Linked DNA regions of Homo sapiens: all the other regions are linked to region 1. The links are contacts of gene promoters, found by promoter capture Hi-C in human tissues and cell types (Jung and others, 2019). All regions are on one chromosome and are shown on one strand. Each heading gives the region's core, a stretch centred on a gene start or on the middle of the fragment in contact. The rest is flanking DNA. Distances are from core to core; before and after follow the strand shown. Region 1 holds the start of KANK2 (KN motif and ankyrin repeat domains 2). Region 2 overlaps SMARCA4 (SWI/SNF related BAF chromatin remodeling complex subunit ATPase 4). Region 3 holds the start of EPOR (erythropoietin receptor).

Evidence for each region. Contacts are between HindIII fragments. The study calls those that stand out against the background at their distance.
Region 2: a contact is called between a fragment that was not itself captured here and the fragment with the promoter of KANK2 in region 1, in 1 of the 25 tissues and cell types used here (lymphoblastoid cells).
Region 3: a contact is called between the fragment with the promoter of EPOR here and the fragment with the promoter of KANK2 in region 1, in 1 of the 25 tissues and cell types used here (dorsolateral prefrontal cortex).

Annotation. Positions count from the first base shown.
Region 1 is chr19:11,195,880-11,200,501 of GRCh38, reverse strand. KANK2 (KN motif and ankyrin repeat domains 2) reads left to right here and starts at 2,957. Exons shown (of 13, transcript NM_001136191.3): 1 at 2,957-3,017. It overlaps DOCK6 (dedicator of cytokinesis 6), which reads left to right. Exons shown (of 48, transcript NM_020812.4): 47 at 33-194; 48 at 963-1,207. The coding sequence ends at 1,005. RefSeq lists a silencer at 2,474-3,093. The HindIII fragment of the contact is 26,033 bases long and covers 1-4,622 here.
Region 2 is chr19:11,016,997-11,021,395 of GRCh38, reverse strand. It overlaps SMARCA4 (SWI/SNF related BAF chromatin remodeling complex subunit ATPase 4), which reads right to left. Exons shown (of 35, transcript NM_003072.5): 17 at 2,373-2,439; 18 at 1,695-1,805. Among named protein-coding and RNA genes, the nearest start is that of SMARCA4, 58 kb to the right of the region's middle. The HindIII fragment of the contact is 9,794 bases long and covers 1-4,399 here.
Region 3 is chr19:11,382,073-11,386,706 of GRCh38, reverse strand. EPOR (erythropoietin receptor) reads left to right here and starts at 2,393. Exons shown (of 8, transcript NM_000121.4): 1 at 2,393-2,614; 2 at 3,475-3,610; 3 at 4,602-4,634. The coding sequence starts at 2,500. RefSeq lists a silencer at 3,094-3,153 and an enhancer at 4,607-4,634. The HindIII fragment of the contact is 19,405 bases long and covers 1-4,634 here.

The sequences.
Region 1 (4,622 bases), core at 1,708-4,207:
TCTCTGAGCATCTCCCACCCTCTGGCCCTCAGATGTGAGGATGCGCTGCGGAAAAATAAGGCCCTGATTGGGCCGGACCAGAAGGAGTACCACCGTGAGCTGGAGCGCAACTACTGCCGCCTGCGGGAGGCTCTGCAGCCCCTGCTTACCCAGCGCCTGCCCCAGCTGATGGCACCCACCCCACCCGGCCTCAGGTGCCTGACCTAGTGCCCCCATCCTAGAGACTAGAGAGGGGATGCAGAGGCAGACCAGGACAGGTACAGGATGGGGGCTGTTGTACACATACACAGCAACATGTTTGCTGGTAGCTTGGACTTTGTTTTGTTTCCGGTTTTTTTTTTGTTTTTTTTTTTGAGAGACTCTCCCTCTGTTGCCCAGGCTGGAGTGCAGTTGGCACAGTCTTGGCTCACTGCAACCTCCGCCTCCCAGATTCAAGCGAGTCTCCTGCCTCAGCCTCCTGAGTAACTGGGATTACAGGCATCTGCCACCACGCCTGGCTAATGTTTTGTATTTTTAGTAGAGACAGGGTTTCACCATGTTGGCCAGACTGGTCTCGAACTCCTGATCTCAGGTGATCCATCCGCTTTGCCCTCCTAAAGTGCTGGAATTACAGCATGAGCCACCACCACGCCTGGCTGCGGTGGCTTCAATTTTGCATAAGCATCTGAATATGTCATCCAGATGTACAAAGGCAGGGCAGGCTCTGAGCAGTCATTTCCCAGATACATGAATTCATCTTTCTGAGCCTCAGTTTCTACATCTGTAAAATGGGGATGATTCATACCTTCCGTGGTGGACTGCAAGAGAGAATCGGAGAATCCCACAGCCAGATCAGGGACAGGAGAGATCCCAGAAGGATCCTTGGAGGAAGACGAGGAGGAGGAGGAAGAGGATGTGGGCTGGGAGGTCTATGGAGTTGGGGGCCCCATGGCCATGCTGACCCACCCTCATTCTTTTTCCAGGAACTCCTTGAACAGAGCAAGTTTCCGAAAGGCAGACCTCTGAGCCCACAAGGACCAAAGCTGTACCTAGAGGAACCAGCACCCGGGCCTCAGCTGTCTGTGCTGCGAGGGGAGTCTGCCCTGGTGCCCACTGGGCTGTGGGGTGACCACACTGTACTTGGGGCTGGGCCCTCTGCCCCTGTGTCCCCATCTGTGTGCACTGATGCTTCCTCCCTTTTTTAATTTAAAATGGTTTTTATAAGCAACCTGTGCCATGTGGTGCGGTCACTAGGGGCTGGGTCACATGCTCATCACATGCTCACAGTCCACTGCCCCATATCCACACATCCCTGCATCATCAATGGGGACACCAAGAACATACTGGGTGCCAGGGACATCGTGGTGACAACAGGCAAAAATTCCTGCCCTTGTGGAGCTGATGTTCTAGTAGGGAAGGCAACACACAAATAATGTCACATGCTTACCTGCAATAACAATACCTGGTTTTTGTTTGTTTGTTTTTAACAGACGCTCTCACTCAGTCCCCCAGGCTGGAATGCAGTGTCACAGTCATAGCTCACTGCAGCCTCAAACTCCGGGGCTCAAGCCTCCTGAGTAGCAGAGATTATAGGCACATGCCACTGTGCCTGGCTTTTTTTTCTTTTTCTTTTTTTTTTTTTTAGACAGAGTTTCACTCTGTCACCCAGGCTGCAGTGCAGTGGTGCAATCTCGGCTCACGGCAACCTCCACCTCCCAGATTCAAGTTATTCTCATACCTCAGCCTCCCGAGTAGCTGGGATTACAGATGTGCACCACCATGCCAGGATAGTTTTTGTATTTTTAGTAGAGAAGGGGTTTCACCATGTTGGCCAGGCTGGTCTTGAACTCCTGACCTCAGATGATCCACCCACCTCGGACTCCCAAAGTGCTGGGATTACAGGCATGAGCCATTTCTCGGCCCCAGGTGGTTTTTTGTATTTTGTTTTTTGTAGAGATGGCGTCTTACCATATTGCCAAAGCTGGTCTCCAACTCCTTGGCTCAAATAATCCGCCCACCTTGGCCTCCCAAAGTGCTACGATTACAGGCATGAGCCACTGCGCCTGGCCTAATTTTTTTTCACTTAAAAATTTTTTTGCATAGACAGGGTCTTGCTATGTTGCCCAGGCTGGTCTCGAACTCCTGAGTTCAAGCAGTCCTCTTGCCTTGGCCTCCCTAAGCACTGAGATTACAGGTGTGAGCCACCTCGCCGGCTTAATAATATTTATTAAGCCCTTGCTGAGTGGCTGGCTGTGTACTAAAAGGGCTCCCAGAAAGATCTCTGCAAAAGTAGGCCACTCCATTTATGAGAGTTTTTAACCCGAAGGGCCTCCTTCCTGATGGTTAGGCCCCTTCCTAATGGTCAGTGAATCTTCTCAACGCTCCTATCAGGTAGCTAACATGATCATCTCCATTTTACAGATGAATAAACTGAGGCACAGAGCAGCAAAAGTTTGGTGGGTCTGGGATGGGAATGCAGGTCTGGCTGGCGCCGGCGCCCAGGACTCTGCAGCCTCCCTTCTCGCGCGGCGGTCACGCCACCGTGTGCCAGGACTGCGCTGGGCCGCTTCCAGCCCTGGGCCGCCTGGGGGAGGGGTGACCTCCCGCTGCCGCGCCCGCCCCGCGCGCCCTCCCCGAGCTGGGCCCCGGCCAGCTCCACCCCCTCCCGCCGCCGAGCCGTTCCGCCCCCCGCAGCGGCCCAGGGACAGCAGGCGGTGGGGGGGAGGCCGGCAGTGGGAGGACCCTGCCTCGGGGACTTAGGGAGGAAGGAAGGACGAGGCCGGACACCCCGGCGCGCACACACACCTGCTGTCCAGGTGAGATCCAGTCTCCAACCAGCGTCTCTCCATCCCCACCCCCCACCGCGGCCGGGGCGCCCGGGCGGCTGGAGGGGGCGGTGCCGGCTGGGGGGGCGGGACCAGCCGGAGGGGGCGTGGTGCGGGCGGAGCCACCTCCGAGGGCCGGGCGCCCAGGCTGCGGCGCGCGCGAAGACGCTCGGGCGGCGGGACCCAGGGAAGGCAGCGGCCGGAGCGCGCAAGGCGAGTGGGACCCGGGGCTGGGTAGGGGTTCAAGTCTGGTTCGGGGATCGAGTGTGCACCCCCTCCACACACACCTACTACCCTACCCCCCGCCTCCAACCCTGGGACACGACCTCGCTGGTCTCAACGAGCCGCTGCCTCCAACTCCACCTTCTGTGCCCAAACTTTCCAGACTTGGAGTGTCTGTCCCCGCGTCCCTGCCCCCTCCTCGTCTTTGACCCCATACCCCCATCGATTCCTCCCAGTACCCCCCATCGATTCCTCGTGCCCTGCCCGTTTCTCCTGTCTTGGCTCCCCTCTGCCCGCTCTCCCCTGTCTCTGTCCCACTTTCTGCCTCTGTTCCTCCCCGGCTCTGCCCTCTCCCCGCACTGTCCCCCCTCGCCCTCCTCCGCGGCCATGCCCCAGACGGCGGGAAGGCGGCCGGGCGTCCGGCCGGGCTGGGCCTGGGCTTGGCGGCTGGGCCGGCGTGGGGAGCGGCAGCTGTTTGCCATTAGCCCGGGATCCCACAGGCCCCGCCCCCTCTCTGCACGGGGCGGGGTCCTTCTCGCCTCCCCCCACCCCGAGTTTGGGGCGGGAAGACCCCCCCCCACCACCACCACCGACCTCCGCGATGTGCAGGCCGGTCTTGGGTGGTGGGTTGGGGAGACCCGCGCCCCTTCCCTGCGCTCCCTACCTGTCCCCTCTTATAGGCTCCAGTCTCTCCATCTCTGTCTTATCCTGTCACCCCTTCCCCATTCCCCAGGGGTCCCATGGCGAGAGAAGGGTCTCAGCCACAGACATCCATCTCCCCCACCACACCCCCTCGTCTCCTTTCTCTTCCCCTTACTCGGGACGTGCTGGTCCTCATCGAGGGCGGTGAGATGACTGAGTACCCTCAGACCTCAGTCTCCGTATCTGGGAAACGGGTAGAGATATCTGATGTGGAGTCTGAGGGTGGTGGCTTGGTGGGCAGTGGGGGGATCCACCAGGCTTAGGTTCATGTTCAGGCCCAGCCACTTCCCCATGGCCCCAGTGACCCCGAGGAAGCCACTGTACCTTTCTGTACCCTCTGCATCCCCTGTCTGTGAAACGGGGCGATAAGTGCCCATCTCATAGAATTGTCATGACAATTAAAAGAGTTGATGTTAGGCTGGGTGCAGTGGCTCATGCCTGTAATCCCAGCACTTTGGGAGGCCAAGGCGGGCGGATCACCTGAGGTCAGGAGTTCGAGACCAGCCTGACCAACATGGAGAAACACCATCTCTACTAAAAATACAGAATTAGCTAGGCGTGGTGGCAGGTGCCTGTAATCCCAGCTACTCAGGAGGCTGAGGCAGGAGAATCGCTTGAACCTGGGAGGCAGAGGTTGCCGTGAGCTGAGATCGCGCCATTGCACTCCAGCCTGGGCGACAAGAGCAAAACTCCGTCTCAGAAAAAAAAAAAAAAAAGAGTTGATGTTAGTATTACTGTTACTATACTATTTACCCAGCAGCACCCTCACTTCCCCCACCCCCAGCCCACCCCGCTCGGCTATTCCAATCCTGCTCCAATCCCGCTTGCTCCCTGCTTCTCCATCTCTCTTTGGTGGCCAGAAAATATTTTCAATCAACTTTCTGTTGCTCAGGG
Region 2 (4,399 bases), core at 1,250-3,749, 180 kb after region 1:
GCAGAAGACACATCTTGCTGACTGGGGGACTTGTCCTGCTGGTGTGGAGGGTCTCAGGGGAACTGGGTTGGTGACGGTACATTTCTAATGAGCAGCCTGTGGTTCAGAATGTGGGCCCCATGGGGTAGGGGCCAGCGCCACTACATACAGGGCCATGCGGGTCGGGAGGGGGCGCAGTGGCCGCACTCAAAGAGCACTCCCACTGCAGGGTGATTACATCAACTGAGCCACTGGCAGGGGAGCACGGGGTTTCAGAGCCTGGTTCCTGTGCCTGCCAACGGCCTGGCTTTGTAAGGAGTCAGCAGGGGTGAGCCACAAAGGAGGCACCTGAAGCATGGACCTGAGGTAAGAGCCTGCACGTGGGATACCCAGCTCCCTGGGCCTCAGTTTCCTCCCTTGTTGGCTCCGGGATAAAGCACCCAGTCCTCGGAAGGCTGAGGCAGGAGAATCACTTGAACCCAGGAGGCAGAGGTTGTTGCAGTGAGCTGAGATCGCTCCACTGCACTCCAGCCTGGGTGACAGCTGTGAGACTCTGTCTCAATAAAAAAAAAAAAGAAGAGAAAAAGAAAAGAAAACACCCAGTTCACAGCCCCAGTATTCCAGTACTGTCACTCCAGCCATGCACTGAGAGGCGGAGCCACCCATAAACAGCTCCTCCATCCCCCCATACCTGGGTCAAGAACTCTACTGTTAGGCCAGACACAGTTGCCCAGTGCTTTGTGAGGCCAAGGCGAGAGGATTCCTTGAGGCCAGGAGTTTGAGACCAGCCTGGGCAGTACAGCAAGACCCCATCTCCATAAAAAATAAATTTAAAAAAGTTAGCTGGGAGTGGTGGCGCACACCTGTAGTCCCAGCTACTCAGGAGGGTGAGGTGGGAGGATCGCTTGAGGCCAGGAGGTCAGGCCTGCAGTGAGCTGTGATCACATCACTGCACTCCAGCATGGGCAACAGAGCGAGACTCGGTCTCAAAAAAAAAAAAACCAAAACGCAAAAAACTCTCTACTGTTCAACACTCACTCAGCTGGATGTTTAGGGGTGAGACCAGGTACATCTTTACCCCTCCTCAAATGAGGAACATGAGTTTTTGGAGGCAGAGGGCTATGTCTGTTTTCTATCTGGGCCGTATTCTCAGTCATGGCCACGCTGGGACTCCCTTCACAGTTTCGTCCCAGAAGAGGCTTCCAGGACAGTAGGACCCTCACAGAACAGCCCGAACCAGCTGCCCAAGGCCAGCAGGCAGTCATGGTATTTGGCCCTCGAGCTCTCCCCCACATGCTGAATCTCAGCCCATGGCCTGTGGTGAGAAGCCAGGGCCCCAGGGAGGGACGGCCAAGGCAATGAGACAGGAGGACAAGACTGGTCTGGCCAAGGCCCCATGGGGACTCTGTAGGCGGGTCAGGAGACGCCTTGGTGCTGAGGCTCTCTGGGCAGAAGGCCCGAGAGGAGGCAGAGCGCATGCTGTGTAGATGGCCCCAGCTTCTGGGCCTGACTCAGGGCCTGCCTGGAGACAGTTAGGGAGGTAAACCTGAGGTCGCCCCCACCTAGGCCTTTCCCCTACACAGGGCAGCTGTCTTCACGCACATGCAGGTGGGACTCCGGGAAGAAACTTGTAGGGGCTTTGGAGGAGACGGGCAGCGTGACCCACGTGTGAGCACTCGGCCCATGGCCTGGCATTTCCCACAGGGACACGTTACCTTGGCGAGGATGTGCTTGTCTTTGATGATGTACTCGTACGTCGTCAGCAAGACGTTGAACTTCCCACTCCGGAGCTGGGGGACAAAGGCCCGTCTTGCTGCTGGGGATCCCTGCAAGGGAAGCAGGATGCACAGCTCGGCTTTTGGAGCCGGGTGGCCAGGTGGCAAGAGGGGCACAGGCACCCCCTGCAACTGCCCAGTGACACGGCGGGAGGGCTCGTCCTCACAGGGGTAGTGGGGAAAGGGGCTGGCAGGGCCGCTGGCGCGTCCCCAGACCTCACCACGCAGAACACGCGCTGCAGGGGGAAGAGGAAGCAGTGCAGGCCAGCGGCGGCCGGGGCCTGAGGGAACCACGCAGCCTGCACCGCCATCTGCACATTCCTGGTGGCTGACAGGCTCCCCTCTTCCTGGGTCCCCATCTCAGGCGCCTGAGCTGGCCTCTGAGTGCTGGCCACCATGCTCACTCCTGTCTCCTCCCCAGTGAGCTAATCTGCCCTGTCCCTGCCCAGTCCAAACTCCCGGATCCATGTGACTGGAGTTCCAGGCTGTCCTGGAGACTCCATGCGACTGGAGACCCAGCATTCTCAGGTTCACTGTCCAGAGGTATGTGTGGACGTCCTGCCCACCACCGCCTGCACCTCCGTAGCAAGAGAGGAAACCTCAGTGGCTGTGACCTACCTTGTAAGACACCTTCACCACGGAGGGGGCCCACTTGTCAAACTCGTACGCCCAGTTGGACAGCGTTCTGATGGAACAAGGAAATGAGAGTCAAGTGCCGGTCTCTCATCAATGGCTCACTGTGCAAACCCATAGCCACTGGCTGTCAGGGGCGAGGCCAACATGGCCACAGCCCTCCGAGTGGGCAGAGAAACTGTGTTTAGGGCAGCTGAGGGAGGGAGGGAGGAAGAGAGACTGGCGAGGACGTGAAGGGCTCTGCCTCAGAGGACAGAAGGGAGGCCACTGGGAAAAGAGGGCAAGGCCCTTTAGAGTGAGAAGTAGGGACACAGAGATGTGATGGGGGACAGAAACAATGCTGCCAGGGCTGGGGAAGCCTGGACCTGCTGCCGGGAAAATGCAGCTTCAGAGCACAGGCTTCACGCCCAGAGCCAGGCTAGCAACAGTGCTGTGGAGACCTGAGGATATAGGAGACACCAAACAGTCTTTCTGCCACCCTCCAGCCACGGAAGGTTCCTGACTGTGAGAGAGAACGAGGACAGTGAGGGGCGAGGCGGGGCCTGGCTCAGGTGGCAGGCGGGAGGACAGGGATGGGAGGGAGCGGCAACTCGTGGCTGTTCCCCTGTGGGATGACCAGGGCTGGAATGAGGGAGGACATGGGGGCAGGCAGAATGCAGTGGGGAGGGGTGAGTCACCTGAGACCGACAGCCTAGAGACTGAGGAGAGGGTGGAGGCGGTAATAAAGCTGAGTCCCAAAGGGGACGGGCTCTGGGAGGAACTCTGGGGCAGGGAGTTTTCAGTGGGGGAGGGAAGCCACTCAGAAAGTCTAGACGGGGTGGTCCGTAAAGACAGGGCTCGAAGCTGGAGTCCCAGGGACTACTCGTGGTTTGCCCCCAAGCAGCTCCACGAGGGAGGTGCTGTGTCCACCATGAACCCATCTCCAGCCCCGCTGGAAGCCACAGCCAACCAGGCGGCACAGCCAATAGACAGAAGGACGCATGGCTGTGGTGAAGGCTGGGGAGAGTTCCTGAAGAAGCGTGGGGAGCAGAGGCTCAGCAGCCTTGCGCTTCTGCTGCCTTTTGCCCTGCCCACTCTCCTAGAACTCTTTCCTGCCCACTCTCCTGCATGAGGCGAGGGAGGCAGTGCAGCCGTCCTGCAACCATGAGGTAAGGAGCCTGAGGGTTGGAGTCACCCAAGAATGACTGGGCAGAAACCTGGGGGAGGCTGGGTCCCTGATGGCATCTTGGAGCCACCGGACCTGGCCCGTAGGGCCTGACCCTGTGCTTCCGCTGACTCAGGAACAGTGAAACCTCCCTGGAGTGATGGGGACAGTCAGCGCACCAAGGGAGAAGCCGGAGGTGTGCGGAGCATCTGCACTGGGAGGGAGAAGAGCCAGGAGCAAGGGTCAGGAGGGGACTGAGGGGACAGGTCCCAGAGACAGAGGTCCAAACGGAGGCAGGACAAGCAGCTCATGGCAGGAGGCAGCAATTCCCAGTGAGAGGGCCGGCACAGCCGGATGCCCATACGCCGTAAACATTTCCTAGCGCGCGGGCCCTCTTCTGGCCTGCAGGAGCTGGCGTTCCACAGCATGGACGCTTGCCCAGGTGGGGCGCAGTGGGAAAGACTGCAGGAGCACCCACCTCACAACCTCACTGAAGTAGGGGAAGAAGGTGACCTCTATCACCCTGGAAATGGAATCTGACTGCAATCTGGAGGTCTGAACACACAAGGAACTGGCCCCAAGGCCTGCGCTCTAGTGGCTCAAGATGCTTCCCGGAGGTACCGGCTCACTACTCTGAAACTGTTGTCCACGGAAGCTGAGAATGGGCGCACACACAGGGTGGAAGTGTGAGAAGGAACCTGTGGTCCTCACTCAGAGCCGCAGACAGTGGTATGAACTCACGTTCAGCTTAACACAGAAACAGATGCCGAGGCAGAGAAGGCCTTTTAGACGATACGTGCACAAAGCATCAGCACGCGCACATGAATCTCCTAGCACTGACCACTGAGAGGGCCCCAGGAGCAATGAC
Region 3 (4,634 bases), core at 1,144-3,643, 190 kb before region 1:
AGCTGGGTGTGGTGGCACACACCTGTAGTCCCAACTACCCTGGAGTCTGAGGAAGGAGAATCGCTTGAATCCAGGAGGCGAAGGCTGCAGTGAGCCAAGATTGTGCCATTGCACTCCAACATGGGCAACAGAGCAAGACACCATCTAAAAAAAAAAAAAAAAACCTGCTTTCATGGAATAGTAAGGGCAGCGAATCAATAACAAAACATCAAATACATGTCAGGTGACAATAAGCACATTGGCTACAAACAAAAACAAAAAACCCACCTGCTTAATAGAAACAGGGTAGGAGTATTGCCATTTTATTTTATTTATATTTATTTATATTTATTTATTTATTTTATTTATTTATTTTTTTGAGACGGAGTCTCGCTCTGTTGCCCAGGCTGGAGTGCAGTGGCACAATCTTGGCTCACTGCAAGCTCCACCCACTGGGTTCACACCATTCTCCTGCCTCAGCCTCCCGAGTAGCTGGGACTACAGGCACCCGCCACCACGCCCGGCTAATTTTTTCTATTTTTAGTAAAGACAGGGTTTCACTGTGTTAGCCAGGATGGTCTCGATCTCCTGACCTTGTGATCCACCCACCTCGGCCTCCCAAAGTGCTGGGATTACAGGCATGAGCCACTGTGCATGGACTATTTATTTATTTTTTTGAAACAGAGTTTCAATCTTGTTGCACAGCCTGGAGTGCAATGGTGTGATCTCAGCTCACTGCAACCTCTGCCTTCTGGTTTCAAGCAATTCTCCTGCCTCAGCCTCCTGAGTAGCTGGGATTACAGGCACCCACCACCACGCTCGAATATATATATATATTTTTTGAGACGGAGTCCCGCTCTGTCACCAGGCTGGAGTGCAGTGGCACAATATCGGCTCACTGAAACCTCCGGCTCCTGGGTTCAAGCGATTCTCCTGCAGCCTCCCAAGTAGCTGGGATTACAGGCATGCAGCACCACGCCCATCTAATTTTTGTATTTTTGGTAGAGATGGGGTTTTACCATGTTGGCCAGGATGGTCTTGATCTCTTGACCTCGTGATCTGCCCACCTCGGCCTCCCAAAGTGCTGGGATTACAGGCGTGAGCCACCGCGCCCGGCCTACGCCTGGCTAATTTTTGTATTTTTAGTAGAGACGTGGTTTCGCCATGTTGCCCAGGCTGGTCTCGAACTCCTGACCTCATGATCCGCCTGTCTCGGCCTCCCAAAGTGTTGGGATTACAGGTATGAGCCACCGCGCCCAGCCAATTATTATTATTTTTTGAGATGCAGTCTCACTCTGTTGCCCAGGCTGGAGTTGCAGTGGCATGATCTTGGCTCACTGCAATCTTCATCTCCCAGACTGAAGCAGTTCTCATGCCTCAGCCTCCTGAGTAGCTGGGATTACAGGCACACGCCACCACACCTGGCTAATTTTTGTATTTTTAGTAGAGATGGGATTTCACCATGTTGGCCAGGCTGGTCTCAAACTCCTGACCTCAAGTGATTTGCCCACGTCGGCCTCCCAAAGTGCTGGGATTATAGGCGTGAGCCACCGGGCCCAGCCCAAGAGAATAAAAATGTGGGTGGTAAAAATTTTTTTCCCAAAAATTCGTAAATGAAAATCTCACATATTATGCATACTGCCCAGGAGCATGGCCTAGCACTGTGCAAACACTCAACTGCTGGTCGTTGCAAGGATTATTATTGGCCGGCTTCAGTGGCTCGTGCTGGTATTCCCAGCACATTGGGAGATGGAGGCTGGAGGATTGCTTAAGTCCGGGATTTCAAGACCAGCCTGGACAACATAGTGGGATCCCATCTCTACAAAGAATTTTAAAAATTAGCCAGGTGCAGTGGGAAGATTGCTTCAGTCCAGAGGCTGCAGTGAGCTATGATTGTGCCACTGCACTCCAGCCTGGGTGACAGAGCAACACCCTGAGACAGAGAGAGAGAGGGGGAAGGAGGGAAGGAGGGAAGGAAGGAAGGAAGGAAGGAAGGAAGGAAGGAAGGAAGGAAGGAAGGAAAGGAGAGAGAGAGAGAGAGAGAGAGAGAGAGAGAGAGAAAATAATTTTTATTTATTTCCAGGCTGGGAAGAGATGCTGATTTCTGCGATAAAATCAGTAGGTACATTTTTTGGAATGTTCGCTATGTGCCAGGCTAGATTTTACAGATGAGAAGTCTGAAGCTCAGGTAAGGTAAGTCACCTGTCCAGGGCCACAAAGAAAAAAAAAACGTGTGTCTGAAGCCAGAACGGGAGCTGTTGCGGCCCAACTCCCTCCCCTGCCCCCAAGCGGCCTCTGGGCTCGGGAAGGGCCCCTGCCTCCTCCCGCCAGGCACTTATCTCTACCCAGGCTGAGTGCTGGCCCCGCCCCCTCGGGGATCTGCCACTTAGAGGCGCCTGGTCGGGAAGGGCCTGGTCAGCTGCGTCCGGCGGAGGCAGCTGCTGACCCAGCTGTGGACTGTGCCGGGGGCGGGGGACGGAGGGGCAGGAGCCCTGGGCTCCCCGTGGCGGGGGCTGTATCATGGACCACCTCGGGGCGTCCCTCTGGCCCCAGGTCGGCTCCCTTTGTCTCCTGCTCGCTGGGGCCGCCTGGGCGCCCCCGCCTAACCTCCCGGACCCCAAGTTCGAGAGCAAAGGTAAGGATGAGCTGCGTGTGGACCCCTACGCTGGAGCCTGCAGGACCATGCTGGGGCCTGAACTCCCAGCCTAGGTCCTGGGGGCCATGCCTGTTTCTGGACTTCCTGACCGGGTCCTGGGGGCCAAGCTGGCATCTGAACCCTTAGACTGGGTCCTGGATGGGTGGGGGGCGGGGTGGGGTATGTTAGGATCCAAGACTCCTGATCGCGTCCCGGGCAAGAGCTAGAGTGGGCTTAACATTCCCGTTTTACCTTTTCAGGGAGTCTGGGACATGCTAAATCCTAAGGGGGCTGACTTGGTGCTAAGGTCCCTGGGGGGTGGGGACCAAGCCGACCCTCCCTAGGGGAGGGAGGGTAAAGCCCGGGTCCGAGTTAGAGGGGCCAAGCCACAGGCTACTGTAAACACGGTTTGTGTGAGGGCGCCAGATCACTTGCCCGGCCCGGTGGAGGGAGGGAGGCGGGGGGCACGGTTGGCGCTATCGGTTGGCGGGGAGCCTGCCGGGGCCGATAGGGGGCCCGCCTCTCCGCACACACCCCCAGCCGCGCGCGTGTCCTAGGCTGGGGCGGGGCTGGCAGTCCCGAGCTCGAGGTCTTGAACGCCGCGCCCAGCTCAGCTGGCCGCTGGGTGGGCAGGTGTGCGCCAGTGGTGACGGCGGGGGACAGTAAGGCGAGAAACTTGCCCCTGGGAATTAGGGGGGCACCACCTCTGCGGACCCCTCCAAGGGACCCGCTTGGGAAGATGGCAGGGCGGGGCTTTTTTCTTATCGGGTCCGCCCAGGCTGCGGGAGGGAAGAGGAGGGGGCTGTCTCCCGAGGATAGAGCTCAGACCCCCATGCCCTTCCTTTGTCGCCCCTCCCCAGCGGCCTTGCTGGCGGCCCGGGGGCCCGAAGAGCTTCTGTGCTTCACCGAGCGGTTGGAGGACTTGGTGTGTTTCTGGGAGGAAGCGGCGAGCGCTGGGGTGGGCCCGGGCAACTACAGCTTCTCCTACCAGCTCGAGTGAGTCCGATCCGGCGGGTGCCTCCAAGGGCGGAGGGAGGGGGTGGGGCAGAGCTCCCTGGAGGTCGTAGCCTCGTATGTCCCCTGCTGTTTGAGGCCCGACGGCGCCTCCAGTCGTGGTCACTGGAGGGAAACCTGCGGGTCCAGGGCTGGCACGCCCTCTATGGGCCGGGGCGCGAACACTCCCGCGATCACCGCTGGAACGCGACCCCAAACATCAGGCTGGGATAACAACGCCTCCAAATCGAGGGTAAGGCGTTACTACGTCGGGGCTGGGACGCCTTCTCGAGGTAGTATCCAAAAGGAGGCCAGCAGTGGCTCATGCCTGTAATCCCAACTCTTTGGAAGGTCGAGGCGGAAGAACCGCTTGAGCCCAGGAGTTCAAGACCAGCCTGGGCAACACAGCGAGATCCCCGTCTCTTAAAAAAAAATTAGACTGGGCGCGGTGGCTCACGCCTGTAATCCCAGCACTTTGGGAGGCTGAGGCGGGCGGATCACCTGAGGTCGGGAGTTTGAGACCAGCCTGGCCAACATGGAGAAACTCTATCTCTACTAAAAATACAAAATTAGCCGGGCGTGGTGGCGCATGCCTGTGATCCCAGCTACTCGGGAGGCTGAGGCAGGAGAATCGCTTGAACCCGGGAGGCGGAGGTTGCGGTGAGCCGAGGTAGCGCCATTGCACTCCAGCCTGGGCAACAAGAGCGAAACTCCGTCTCAAAAAAAAAAAAAAAAAAAGCCAGGCGTGGCGCGTGCCTGTGGTCTCAACTACTTGGGAAGCTGAGGTGGGAGGATCCCTTAAGCCCCAGAATTTGAGGCTGCAGTGAGCCATGATCGCGCCACTGCACTCCAGCCTGGGCGACGAAGGAACACCTTGTCACACACACACACAAGGCTAGACCTTGTGTCACACATACACACTGCCCCCCACAGGCCGGGCAATGCCAACTCCCCGGTCCCCCCTCCCAACCTGCTCCCTTCCCTGGGCGCATAGGGATGAGCCATGGAAGCTGTGTCGCCTGCACCA